Linked DNA regions of Homo sapiens: region 1 is linked to region 2. The links are contacts of gene promoters, found by promoter capture Hi-C in blood cells and fetal thymus (Javierre and others, 2016). All regions are on one chromosome and are shown on one strand. The core of a region is centred on a gene start or on the middle of the fragment in contact, and the rest is flanking DNA. Distances in the headings are between cores, read along the strand shown.

Region 1 (7,250 bases), core at 3,608-6,107, 97 kb before region 2:
GACAGAAGGATAACAAATTTCTTACTTTACTACCGTAATAATTGAATTGTTTTAAGAATTAGCAGCTTGGGATGTAGGAAATCTCCTTTTCTAGCTTAAAGTAATAATTCAAACAGTTTTACTATATATTATAAAATAGCATATTCCTCAAAACTACACTTTAAAATGCAAAACTTTTATCCACCCAAACAAAACAAACAAAAAAAACCACACACCTACCTTCATTTTCTGAGAAGGGTTTCACTCTATTCTTTAGATACCTGTTCATTTCTCCATTATGGCACATTTCTAATACCAGATACACATAATTGCTATCTTCAAAATAGTTATAAAGCTGAAATGTGAAAGGGCATAATAAATTAAAATATACAAAAATTCAGTGTCCTTGGTCACTTCTACAAAATTTATATCTTACCTCCAAGATAGAAGGATGTTTCAATTGGCAATGTATTTTCACCTCATTTTGGACTCTCTGTACCATTCCTGCTTTGTACATGGCTTTCTTATCTATCTAAAAATAACAGGTTTAAATGTTGACAGACTTTCAAATATAAACTGCTTAAAAGTGAACTTTGAAAATAAAGTATACTTTAAAATAGACTGAAGTCCTTTTATACGTCTTTGTGGTCAACCTACTGTTATCTGTTTTCCCCATGCACCTAGCAGAGTGCTCGGCAGAGAGGGTGCTTGGTAAAAGTTTGACCAATTAATTCTAATATCCTATCTCAATTTAAATAATCTAATAGCACAACTAGCCTAACTATTAAGAAAAAAAAATCCCAATTCAGGCAAATTTTAGAGCAAAACCTCCAGTTCTTTTTCTAAGTGGTTTAGATAAATGATTTTTTTTTTTTAAAGGCAGGGTCTCACTGTCACCTAGGCTGGAGTGCAGTGGCATGATCACAGTTCACTGCAGCCTCAACCTCCCAGGCACAATCTATCCTCCCACCTCAGCCTCCTGAGTAGCTGGGACCACAGGCACATGCCACCACGCTTGGCTAATTTTTTTTTTTGAGATGGGAATTTAGCTCTTGTTGCCTGGGCTGGAGTGCAATGGCGCGATCTCAGCTCACCACAACCTCTGCCTCCCGGGTTCAAGCGATTCTCCTGCTCAGCCTTCAGAGTAGCTGGGATTACAGGTGTGCAGCACCACACCCGGCTAATTTGGTATTTTTAGTAGAGATGGGGTTTCTCCATGTTGGTCAGGCTGGTCTTGAACTACCGACCTCAGGTGATCCACCCGCCTCGGCCTCCCAAAGTGCTGGGATTACAGGCGTGAGCCACCGTGCCCAGCAGCAGCTAATTTTTGTATTTTTGGTAGAGAGGAGGTTTCACCATGTTGCACAGTTGTTTTCAAACTCCTGAGCTCAGGTGATCCACCTGCCTCAGCCTCCCAAAGCGTTGAGATTACAGGTGTGAGCCACCCACCCGGCTGACAAATAATTCTTAATTTGCTTATGTTTATGTTACTCCTATTAGGCTGACTTCTAACAATCAAGAATAATATTTTGTATGTTACAGGGAAATACAAAATTATACACAGTGAACTATAAACAAATTATTTGTTAGTTGATTTCTACTCATTACTCCAAGTATGGATAATTACACCACATACGAGGTCTACTGAACATTAATGAAGATAAAACTTACTTAAGCAAGGTCAAGGCTTTCCTAAAATATTTTTAAGTTCAACGGCTGGACTTGGCACTATTGTCTTCTGCCTATGTAAAGTGTTCCTTACACTATAATCAAAGGAAAGGCTAGTAGACAAGGAGTTTCTGACATCTCTGATACCTCTCTAGTTACTTGCAAAGTACAGGAGAGAAGTTGATTAGTTTATTCTTACCATTTTGATTGCAACTTCCAAACCAGTGTGAATGGACTCAGCTCTGTAGACACCAGCAAATGATCCTTTACCAAGCAGATTTCCAACTTTAAAATCCTTAAAAGTTAAAATTAAAGATTATGTGTGATGACTCACAGTAGAAAGGAAGATGGGAAGGGGCTGGAAAAAGAAGATAAAATGGATCGAGTGGGGAATTTGACAAAATTCAAGCGGGTATTACACCTCGATGCAGCAGGTGTCTAGGGTGGAAGGCATGTTGACTCCGTGCGGGGATACCTGCGCTTCCAGGCTGGACTGGAAGCTCAGGGTGATGGTGCACCCTAGTGATCTGGTTCCTCAACCTCAGTGCAGCCTAAGCGCCCTCCTCCCATCTCCAGCCAATCCCCGGGAGCGGAGGGCTCGGTCAGAATCCCGCCGCAGCTCCCGCCGGAGATAACCGCCATCCCCTTGGAGAAGTGGGAGGTAGCCCTGCCCTGCTCTAACGCGGTAGCTCGGGCGGGATTGCTGAAAGAAAGCCGCAGTGCCTCGGGACACTGCCGGGCGGGGAGGGACTCACCTGTCCCGCCTTCCCTACTCTTGTCTCTTGAGGGGCGGGCCGCTCCGCCCCTAAACAGCAGGGGTCTGGGCCGTTGGGACCCTCCCTAAGCACCTCGGTGCCCGCCCCGCAGCCGTTAGCTTCGTTCGCTCCCCTTCCCACAGCGGTCTCGTGTCCTCCCACAATTACTCCCACCCGCCCCGCTGCAGACTGCCGAGTCTTTTCACCTCGATCTTCTCCCCGATGCAGGTCGCCATATTTCCAGGCTCTGGCCTGGGTTCTCCGGATTAGCTTCCTTCACGCAGTCCCTTCGAGGCAGCGCTCCAAGCAGCCAGCCGGCCTTGGCGCCCATCAGGCTCGGCTCTCTAAACCGCCGCTCCAGGCGACGACGCTGAAACCACGGAAAGTTCTCCCTGACACCTTCCGAGGCCTGGGCGGTGCCTCTGGGCTCCCATTTTGAAAATCTCCCGCCGCTTGCCGTCCGAGCTAGGCTGGTGGTGACGTAACGAGATGGATCGCTCCGGATAGGCTGCGCCGGGGCGCGCATGCGCGGCAGACCTTCCTTTGCGGCCGGCCCAGGGTTCTAGACTTCGGGGCCAAGGGCCGGAAGCGCTGCGGAGAGTTTAGTTCGGGCGGGAGGCTGTCTCGGGCCCACTCTCGGAAGAACTTCTGCAAGACGGGTAAAAGAGCAGGCCTTAAAGATGGGACACTTATGGCTGATCGGTTACTTCACGGTCCGAAATACCACTTCTAATTCCGGAAAGGGTTTAAAACTATTTTAAAATGTCAAGCGTTTAAGACTTGACGGAACAGGGCAAAAAACATTACCTTCCTTTAAGGAACACCGTTTACACCACTACCGCTTATTCCGTAGTTTGTTATAACTGTAGTTAATGTGTACGGTACCTTAAGAAAACGAACTCCATTCTTTATTTTGGCAAACTCCTAAGTATTTAATATTATAATGTCATTTGTATAATAATTTACAGTTAGATCTCTCATACACATAATTTGTATGGATCAAAAGAGACCTCTGTAAGTTTGGGATGGTGTTTTGCAGGTGAGAAAAGTGTGATGCTTAAGGAAGGATATTTAACAAACAGAAGTAGCGCACAAACTTAGATCTTCTGTTATTAAGTGAAAGCTCTTTTCCTTGATGTTAGTGTGTATTTCTTTTTCTTTTTCTTTTTTCTTTTGAGATGGAGTCTCGCTCTGTCGCCCAGGCTGGAGTGCAGTGACTCGATCTCGGCTCACTGCAGCCTCCATCTCCTGGGTTCCAGCGATTCTCCTTCCTCAGTCTCCCGGGTAGCTGGGATTTACAGGTACGCGCCACCACGACTGGCTAATTTTTGTATTTTTAGTAGAGACGGGGTTTCACCATGTTGGCCAGGCTGGTCTCGAACTCCTGACCTCAGGTGATCCGCCTGCGTCGGCTTCCCAAAGTGCTAGGAATACAGGCGTGAGCCTCCATGCCCGGCCCATTTTTTTTTTTAAACTTTTTAGTTTCAAATAATTTTAAGCTTACAGAAAAGTTGTAAAAATAATAGAGAACTCCTGTTGTCCTTTACTCAGATTAACCAATTCTTAACATTTTGCCACACTTGTTTTTACTATTCTTCATGTGTAATATACATGTATAAATATATAAATAAGCCTATTATTTGTATTTTATGAATCATTCTAAAATAGGTTACATACACTATGCTCTTATACCCCTTATTTCTAAAGTGTGAATTTCTTAAGAACCAGGGTATCCTCTTGTATGTTTATCAAATTAAGGATATTTAGCATTGATACAATATTTATATTTAATCTAATCTACAGTTCATATTCCGATTTGTCAATTGTTCCAGTAATGTCTTTATTTAACATTTTTTCCTTCCAGTATAGATCTAGTACAGGATCACATACCGTATTTAGTTACCATATCTTTTTAATTTCCTTTAATATGGAAGAGTTCCTCAGCATTTGTATTTTTGTGACATTGAGATTTTTGAAGAGTGCAGGCCAATTATTTATCATTCGTTCATTTGTTCATTCCAGTATTACTGAGGTATAGTTGACAAAAATTGTATTTATTCAAGTTGTACAGCATGATGATTTCATATACATTGTGAAATGATTACAACAATCAAATTAACACATTGTCACCACTCTTAGGAGTGTGTGTGTGTGTGTGTGTGTGTGTTAAGGGCCAGTTATTTTACAGAATCTTCCCTACTTTGGGTTTGTCTCGTGTTTCCTCATGATTAGATTCAGGTTATGTATTCCTGATTGTAATATTACATACATGAGGTTATATTCTTTCCAAGAGACCACATTTGGAGGCACGTGATATTGTTTGTCTCTCATTAGTGATGTTAATTTGATCCCAGTTTCTCCACTGTATAAATTGCTGGTTTTCTACTTGCAACTAATAAGCAATCTATGGGGGAGACACTTGAATTTCCTGCAAATATTCTGCTCCTCAGCAAACCCCTCTCTCACAATTTAGCAGTATTATTGATTTTTCCTAAACTAGTCTTTACTATGATAGTTACAAAATGATAATTGTTCTCTTTCCATATGTATTAGAAACAATTTTGCCAAAAAGATGAGCCCCGCCTGGTGTGGTGGCTCAAGTCTGTGATCCCAGCACTTTGGGAAGTTGAGGCAAGCAGATCGCTTGAGCCCAGGAGTTCCAGATCAGCCTGGGCAAAATAGTGGAAACACAGTCTCTACAAAAAATACAAAAATTAGCCAGGGGAGGTGACTTGCACCTGTGGTCCCAGCCACTCAGGAAGCTGAGGTGGAAAGATCACTTGAGCCTGGGTGGCAAAGGCTGCAGTGTGCCAGGTTCATGCCACTGCACCACAGCCTGGGCGACAGAGCGATACCCTGTCTCCAAACAAACAAACAAACAAAAAACAACCAGAAGAGCCCTACATTTTGCCCTGTTTAATGATATACAGATGGTCCCCAACTTATTATTATGATGGTACAATTTATGATATTTTGTCTTTACAATGTATTTATAAGGCTATTAAATGCATTTTTTGACTTAGGATATTTTTGACTCATGATGAATTTATTGGGATGTAGCCCCCTCATAATTCAAGGAACATCTGTGTTTTCAGTATGAATTTAGGGATTCCCAGATTATTGAATCAGTTATAATCCATTTCCTCAAAGGATTATAATCCATTACCATCTTATTTTGGTGTTCAAAGTGTCTGAGATTTGTTTAGTGAGAGCTCCTTTCAACCTAGCTGTTTTGATAGGACATATATATATAAAAGCAGTTCTTTACTTTCTGGTACAACAAGATGTTCTAATTTTATTTTGGGCTTTCTCTCACCCAGCACTGAAAGGAGCCATTTCTGCAAAGTGTCCTGACACCTTACAGTAGAAAATGGTGCTTAAAAAACAATATCTGGGAGCTTAGCAAGCTTATTGCGACTTAGGTGTCATTGCATCTATGCCTTTTCAGCAGATGAAACTAAAGAAAAAAATATTAGTAATCATGAGTTCAAGCTGATATCACCAATTCTAATCTAATTTCACATAGTTGTTCCTACTACCTTAAATTTCTATTTAATCACTGTTACCATATATACATAATTTTAAAAATCAAATTGTTTTATAACAAATATTAATAACAAGCATACAAACTCTGCATTTCTGCTTCCCAGATGCAACCCTCTTCAATTCATTTAACTGTTCATTTTTATATATTCTACCGTATTTCTAAATAACATGCTTATTTTCTTTTTTGATTTTTTTCAGTTATAGATTTAGCTCTATTAACTTTCTATTGTGGAAGATGAGGAACTATTTCTTTAGTTGCTTTTACTTTCACCCCTTTTCTTTTTCTTTTTTTGACACAGCGACTTGCTCTGTCACCCAGGCTGGAGTGCAATGGCACGATCTCAGCTCACTGCAACCTCTGTCTCCCAGGTTCAAGTGATTCTCCTGCCTCAGCCTCCTGAGTAGCTGGGATTACAGGCACACGCCACCACACCTAGCTAATTTTTGTATTTTTAGTAGAGACGGGATTTCACCATGTTGGCCAGGCTGGTCTCGAACTCCTGACCTCAGGTGATCCATCTGCCTCAGCCTCCCAAAGTGCTGGGATTACAGGTGCGAGGCACCATGCCCGGCCACTTTCATCCCTTTGTGTCCTCAGTTCTTGTGACCTCATTCTCTAAATGTAATTACCTCATAAGTTTTTGTTTTTTCTTTGAGACTGAGTTTCGCCCTTTGCCCAGGCTGGGGTGCAATGGTGCGATCTCAGCTCACTGCAACCTCTGCCTTCCAGGTTCAAGCGATTCTCCTGCCTCAGCCTCCTGAGTAGCTGGGATTACAGGCATGTACCACCAAGCCTGGCTAATTTTTGTGTATTTTTAATAGAGACGGGGTTTCTCCATGTTGGTCAGGCTGGTCTCGAACTCCTGACCTCAGGTGATCTGCCTGCCTCCGCCTCCCAAAGTGCTGGGATTACAGATATGAGCCACCGCGTCCGGCCTAACTTTTTTTTTTTTTGAGACAGAGTCCCCCTCTGTCGCCTAGGCTGGAGTGCAGTGGCACAATCTTGGCTTACTGCAACCTCTGCCTCCTGGGTTCAAGCAATTCTTGTGCCCCAGCCTCCCAAGTAGCTGGTATTATAGATATGTGCCACCATGCTCTGCTAATTTTTGTATTTTTCATAGAGACAGGGTTTTGCCATGTTGGCCAGGCTGGTCTTAAACTCCAGACTTCAAGTGATCCACCTGCCTCAGCCTCCCAAAGTGCTGGGATTGCAGGCATGAGTCACCATGCCTGGCTACCTCGTAACTTTTGTTTCTCAATATTCAGAGTTTACAATGTTATTACAATTAAGTAAATATTACA
Region 2 (6,763 bases), core at 2,190-4,689:
CATAGAAAAAGGTTACTAAACATAGGCTGGGTGCAGTGGCTCACACCTGTAATCCCAGCACTTTGGGAGGCCGAGGCGGGTGGATCACCTGAGGTCAGGAGTTCGAGACCAGCCTGGACAACATGGTGAAACCCCGTCTCTACTAAAAATACAAAAATAGCTAGGCGTGGTGGTCGTTGCCTGTAATTCCAGCTACTCGGGAGGCTGAGGCAGGAGAATCGCTTGAACCCAGGAGGCGGAGGTTGCAGTGAGCTGAAAACGCGCCACTGCACTCTAGCCTGGGCAACAAGAGCAAGACTACGTCTTAAAAAAAAAAAGAAAAAAAGAAAAAGGTTACTAAACATAAAGTAAATACTTCCCCTTCCCTTTGAAAACACACACAGAAAACCATCTGGAGGAATTAAATTTTTAATTTCACCTTTTAATGTGCCAGTATTTTTTATAATGAGCACATATTATTATGTAATAATTTTTCAATAAGATGTTCAGGAAAATTATTTTGTCTCTTCAATTTATGCAGGTTAATTTCTCTCTCCCTCTTCAACTTATGCAGGAGATGAGAGGCTAGTATAAACACTCTAACTTTACAGAAGGTGAATCTGAATTAAATAGGTTAAATTAACTTGTCTTTTGTCCCTTAATTATAGGCCAAAACTTGGTTCTTTTTCATTAAACTGTCCTTCTTGGTTTATATGGAATCCTCTCAACCATAAGCAATCAAATATGTTAATGAAAGAAACGTAAAATGTATGAATGCTGAAAACAACTAAATTGAACATTTCTTTCCTCTTTTCATAGGATCATTTTATAATGTATTCACATCTTAGAAAATATGTCACATTACCTTGATGTAAGCAATTGGAATATGAAAAACATTTTATTTGCAAAGCTAACATTTTATTTATGTGTGTTATTAAATACTGTGGTGTATTAGAGAAGTTAAAGGTTATCTAATAGTTACAATGCTTTTTGCATGATCGGTGTTGAATTGATGGATAAATGTCCTGAGGCCCGGAAGGGCTATGTTTTTCCTCAACAATTGGACCCACAAAGTAATACATAGTGTAAGAGCACTACACTACCATGAAGTACTTTTGTTCAGAAACAACAAAAGATACACTTCTGAGGTAAGTGACAGTGCCCAGCCATGGAGAGAAGAGTTGCTGATGCAAGCTAAGTGAGAATATCCTTTCACTTTTTAAGAACTTTCTAGTTTAGATTAGGCTCATTAAATCTAGATATTACTATTGGCTTTCTAGCACACAAATCAGAAATATCACATTACTTCTCAACCACACAGAACCAGCGAATATGCCTAAGTACAATAACAAAGAGACTTTTAGAAGACTCTAGAAGCCCACTTTTTAAAGAACTAAGTCTGGCCGGCCAGGATCTTTAAAGAATCACAGGTTCACTCACTGCTAAAGAGATTTCTCAGCCTGGAAATGCAGATCGATCTTTCTTACTGTTCTGGTTTCTGATCTTTTAGGATATGGCTTTAAGGACTAAAAGAATGTCCACCCTACCTCTCAGTTTTTTCTCTATAGGTTGAGAGTCAATGAAGCCAAAGATTGCTCCCATTTTTAACCCCTACTCTGCTGAAGGTGGAGAGTGGAATTTCCGGTCTGTTTCTGGCGAAAGCCAGTATTTGTTGTGGCTTAATATAAAACCTTGTAGAGACGAATTCATCGACTTCACAGTTACTGTTTCGGCCTCTCACTGTGCATAAAAGCCAGAAAAAGATGTAAAAAGTAGAAGAGTTCAAACATTATTGAGGATTACCTTATCTATGCCCATGTATTGAAAATATAAACGTCCAAAACGTTTAAAATTTCAATAGAAGAAACGTGTACATCTACGAAAAAAGGTATAAAACCTTCTAGAATCTTCTTGGAAAGAAATCAAAGCACAGACTGCTTCAAGTGAGCTACTCTTCAACATCTTTTTGCCATATTTTAAAGCTTTCCATAGAATAGTAAATGAGGCATTTAAAGACCATTGGACACTGACCTTGTTTTAGTATAGTTAAGGTATTATATTTTGGACCATTCAGAACGGTCAAATTAAGATGCCAAATTACCTTTCCATAAAAAGTAATATAGGTTTCATACAGTTGGTTTCCTCATAAAATTACCAGTAACAGCAGCCTATAAGCAGCAACTAGTTTTTCATATTTCAGAATTACTTCATTATATTCCTTGCCAACAAACTTCCCAGGCCAGAGAAACAACGGAACATGTGGAAACATGTTTCCATGACATAACGCCGCTCCTCCTAAGCCTTTCATTAAGCGTTCATAATAGAATCACTCCACAGTCATGTTTATACGGGACAGCTGCCCCCGACTCCGGCAATTCACTCTGCAGAAACACGCTTTTGGTCCGACCCAACCCCGCCGCATTCCAGCAACTGACGTAGTTACCAATGCACAAGGCCAGTGACTCCCATCCCGAGGCTCTCCCTATCAATGCACCATTGACCTGGCCCTGTAAACCGGCTCCATTACCTGCAGTTCTCAAGGGCACTGGGTTTTGTAAAACCCCACATGCCTCACTCCCCGCCCTTAAAAAAAAAAAAAAGGCTTTCGGGGCCAGATGAACCTGCAATTCATCTCTGACGTGTGCAGCCGAAGCTGACTTTTTACTTTTCTGAGAAAAAGCTGTCACCCAGAGGGACGGGGAAAGGAAGGAGGGCAGCTGGCGCGGGGCCGATAATCCCACGTAAACCTCGTTAGAGGCAACCGGAGATCTTTCTCAATATTCCGGACGCCAGGGGCTGTCCCACAGCAACCTCTTCCTCGCAAGCAAAAGAGGCGTTGGGGGACAGCGGCACGAGGCAGGGGACGTGCGTAGGTACAGAAAAGAGAGCTGCGCAAACTAGTGCGGTCCCTCGTCCTTGAAGGAAAAGAAGCTTTGCGGGGCGAGGAAGTCCGACTGCCACCCGGCGGTCTCTAGGGACTGCGGTTGACGGGTTGCACCTGTCATCTCGGGGTTCGGCGCACGTTAGGGGAAAATCCGAGGAAGCGAGCAGACAGGACAAACGTTAAGGACGGGAGAGAAAAACGTTTCTTAGGGTCGAGGTGATGCTCAGCAGAGGCACTTACGGGGTACACCTGTCGCTGTACTCATTGGCGATGGTCTCGATGCCGCCACTTCTCGCGACAGCAATGTAGCAGTTGAGAAAGCCGAGGTCAATGCCAACCACAGACATCCCGCCGCGTGATGGTCGGGCTGCTGGTACTGAACCCTTCGGTACGGGAACCGTGTCCTCTTCTGGGCTATTGCTGCTGGGATTGCGACTCCTACCAGAAGCAAACGAGAGGGGACCCCAAGTCGCTAAGCAGAAAATCTAGGGCAGGGAGTCGGAAACCCGCGGAAGGAGCAGAGGCCGTCAGCGCCGCAGCCTGCACCGCGTCCCGCAGCCTGGGTCTTTCCCTACTGCGGTTCGGCCGCCTCCAACCGGCGGTTACTGGGACCTGCGCCTGCGCGCTCGGCTGCCCGGGAGGCGCGCGAGCCTCCGCTCCGCGCCCGAGCCAGCTCCGGGCCCGGACTTCGGCCGCTTCCGTCAGCACTCGGGCAACGGCTGCCCAAGAAGCTGCGGGTTCGAGAAAGATCTGGAAAATGGAGGCTGCTGAGCTATCCGGGGGCGGGAGAAGCGGGAAGGCGGGGCGGGGAGGATCGGGGAAAGGAGGCTAGGCACATTGGCTTGCTCGCCCTCGCTCGGCAGTAGGACGTCGGGCGGTCGGGCTAGGTGAGAGGCAGGCGACCGGCCGGCCCGGGGCTTTGCGAACGTGTTTTGAGGCACATTTTTGGGTTGTTTTGGCAACCGGAGGCGTGCTTGTCACGGCGGCAGGATGCTGTCCTGGCTGGCGGGCGCCGCCCCCTCACCCCCTGCCCTCAGAAGGGCTCGCCCGCAGGCCTCGCCTCCCCGAGGGGCCCATGTGCAGCCCGGCGCCCTCCCCTTGTGGCTGGAGGCCCGCCGCGCCCGGCTCTGTGAGGTGGCGCGCATTGTCCGACGTCCGCCGCTCCGCCCTGTCCAGCCCCGGGGGAGCTGCCGAGCCCGGGACAGACTCTTGTGCGAAAGCGGGATGAGCACATGTTAGGTTTTTTTCTTTTTTCATCAGCAGGATTTGAAATATCAAAAGTCAAACTTCTGTCAAGAAATAAGATCACACTGACAACTTTCCCTCCACGTACCTTTCCTCACACCTTTCTAAAAGATGCTGGCCCCGCCGCTGACCCTTGTCTCTGGAAACCAGTTTTACAGGAAAGTGACCTTAATTAAGTGTGCCACTCACACCAGCCAAGTCTGTGCTTTAGCCTCCAGCCGCTGCCCTGTGGTCCTCAAAAAAGAGCCCAGTGTGGTCCAGCGCCCTCCCTCTTGGTTTGATCGGCATGTGTTGCCTGTCTGTAATTAACCAAGTTTTATGTTACACTTAAGAAATTTGGCTGTCTTGTTGCTTTTCGTTCACTTTTACGTGTGTGCCCTGTTCCTTCTCTGCCAGTCCTTGGTCTGTTCCCTGTTCCTCCCCGTCCTCTTCATCTAGTCTCTGTTCCTTCTCATCCAATTCTTTGTGTGTTTTCCTGTTCCATTTTGGTATCCATCTTGAAAACAGGCGTGTTTTTTTGTTTGTTTGTTTTGTTTACTAGATTCTTTAGTATTCTGATTATCCCTAGTTGTCCACTTCTTTAAATAACTTAGATTTTTTACTATTAATAATGTTGCTACAGCAGCAGCAGCAGCAAGGGTGGCTATAGTTCCTGCTGCTGTTAGAATGAACGTGAAATCCATTTTCAAGGGCAATACTGAGGCAACTGGATTGTACAGTATTGCTTGGGCTCTGGTCTCTACATTGAAGAAATCAATCAGGCCTCTCTTCCCTTCATGAGCACTCAGGAGACGTGGAGCCCCTGGGTGAAGCTGCGCTCTGAGACACCGCAGAACTCGGCGTCCCAGCGGGCAGCTCGTGAGCAGAACAGGGATTGGGCGTTGCCCTGCGACTGAACCCTGGGCCCTGGTCCTGCTGGGCGCCTGTGACTTCCACCAGTTCTCCTCACACACCTCTTCTGACATCGGCCATCACTATCTAGATTTATTCCAGAATATCCTGAAATTCTCCTAGTACAATTAATTTATCTTAATTCCATTAGTTTATCCATGTTGTCTATACAACTTGAGGGTGTAAGAATGTTTTTTTTTTTTCCTATTAAAAATACCACTTAAAATATCAAAGTAAAAAGGAAGTTGAGGCCAGGAGCAAAGTGGTGTTATCATCACGTTCCTTACAATTACTGGCAGGACGTGAGAGTACCCAGTGGTTAAAACCATGACGGGCTTTGGGGTCACACAGATTTGGGTTGTAGTACCAGGCTTGCCTAACTTACTACCTGTATAACGTTTGGCAAGTTACTTAATGCTCCAAGCCACAGGTTCAGTCTGTTAAAATGAGGACAAATATGCCTACTGGGCTGTTTTTATGATTAAATAATGTAAGCACTGCATCAGTCCCTGGCACCAAACGGTCAATAAATGCTAGCTATGCTTAGCTGCTGAATGATCCTGATTCATGTACATTGGTCATGTATCCAGCAACCTTGCTGTATTCTAAATTCAAGTATTTGCAGAATTTCTTGGATTTTCTGTGTATAGAACAATATGGCCTGGGAAATAATGAATTTCTTCATTTCTATTTCTTCTGTTTCTTATTGTTTTGCCTGGATTATGTTGCTTAAGTGCTCCAGTAAAATTTTGAAAATAAACAGTAGTGGTAAGCATCCTTGTCTTGTCCCTAACATTAAATACCTTTGTGTTTATGATGTAAGAAAGTTAACAAAATTATCTTCTATTCCTACTTTGCTAAGAGATTTTTCTCATAAAATCCACTCACACGCCTGTAAGTGGATACTGAAACTTAACAAATGTTAACCATCATCTAATGACCTGTTTGTTGCCCTTTAATTTGTTAATACAATGAATAACGTTACTAGAGTTTTCTAACATCCTTGTATCCCTGGGATAAACCAGAAAGGCCATGATGGTTCTGATTGTTTTGGCTTGTGATTATTTTATGAAGGATCTTTACATCTATATTCATAAATGAAACTGGCCTTTTTCTTTCTTTACTCTTTTTATTGGCGTCAAGATTATCGCCTCATAGAGGAAGCCAAAGGGGTTTCCTCTTTTTTGTTCCCTTCTGATAGTTTTGGTAAGAAAAGCCTGTAAACCGGCTGGGCGGGGTGGCTCACGCTTGTAATCCCAGCACTTTGGGGGCCGAGGCGGGCGGATCACCTGAGGTCAGGAGTTTGAGACCAGCCTGACCAACATGGCGAAAACCCATCTCTGCTAAAAATACAAAATTAGCCGGGCGTGGTGGCACATGCCTGTAATTCCAGCTACACAGGAGGCTGAGGCAGGAGAATTGCTTGAACCTCGGAGGCGGAGGTTGTGGTGAGCCGAGATTGCGTCATTGCACTCCAACCTGGGCAACAAGAGAGAAACTCCGTCTCAAAAAAAAAAAAAAAAAAAAAAAGGGCTGTAAACCATCTTAGCCTAGAGTTTATGAGGTTTATGATGAATGATTAAATTTCTTTAGTGGTTATGGTCTATGTTTTCTATTATTCTTGAATCATTATTGGTTATTTGTATTATTAAAAATTTACCATTTCATCTAGGTTTTCAAGTTTGTTGGCACAAAGTTGATTATTCACTTAAAAAAATCTCTTCAGTAGTTATATGTACATCTTTTTCATTCTTAATATTCTTT

Evidence for each region. The method cuts DNA at HindIII sites, captures the fragments that hold promoters and counts their contacts. A CHiCAGO score of 5 or more calls a contact.
Region 1: a contact is called between a fragment that was not itself captured here and the fragment with the promoter of HSPA4L in region 2, in 1 of 17 cell types (megakaryocytes). The highest score is 7.1, in megakaryocytes.

Annotation. Positions count from the first base shown.
Region 1 is chr4:127,876,523-127,883,772 of GRCh38, reverse strand. PLK4 (polo like kinase 4) reads right to left here and starts at 2,880. Exons shown (of 16, transcript NM_014264.5): 1 at 2,609-2,880; 2 at 1,847-1,942; 3 at 416-511; 4 at 220-334. The coding sequence starts at 2,638. RefSeq lists an enhancer at 2,557-2,796. The HindIII fragment of the contact is 1,908 bases long and covers 3,904-5,811 here.
Region 2 is chr4:127,778,998-127,785,760 of GRCh38, reverse strand. It overlaps HSPA4L (heat shock protein family A (Hsp70) member 4 like), which reads right to left and starts at 3,439. Exons shown (of 19, transcript NM_014278.4): 1 at 3,104-3,439. The coding sequence starts at 3,210. RefSeq lists enhancers at 1,038-1,277, 2,689-2,768, 2,377-3,369, 3,269-3,418 and silencers at 3,559-3,628, 3,909-4,078. The HindIII fragment of the contact is 4,318 bases long and covers 2,913-6,763 here.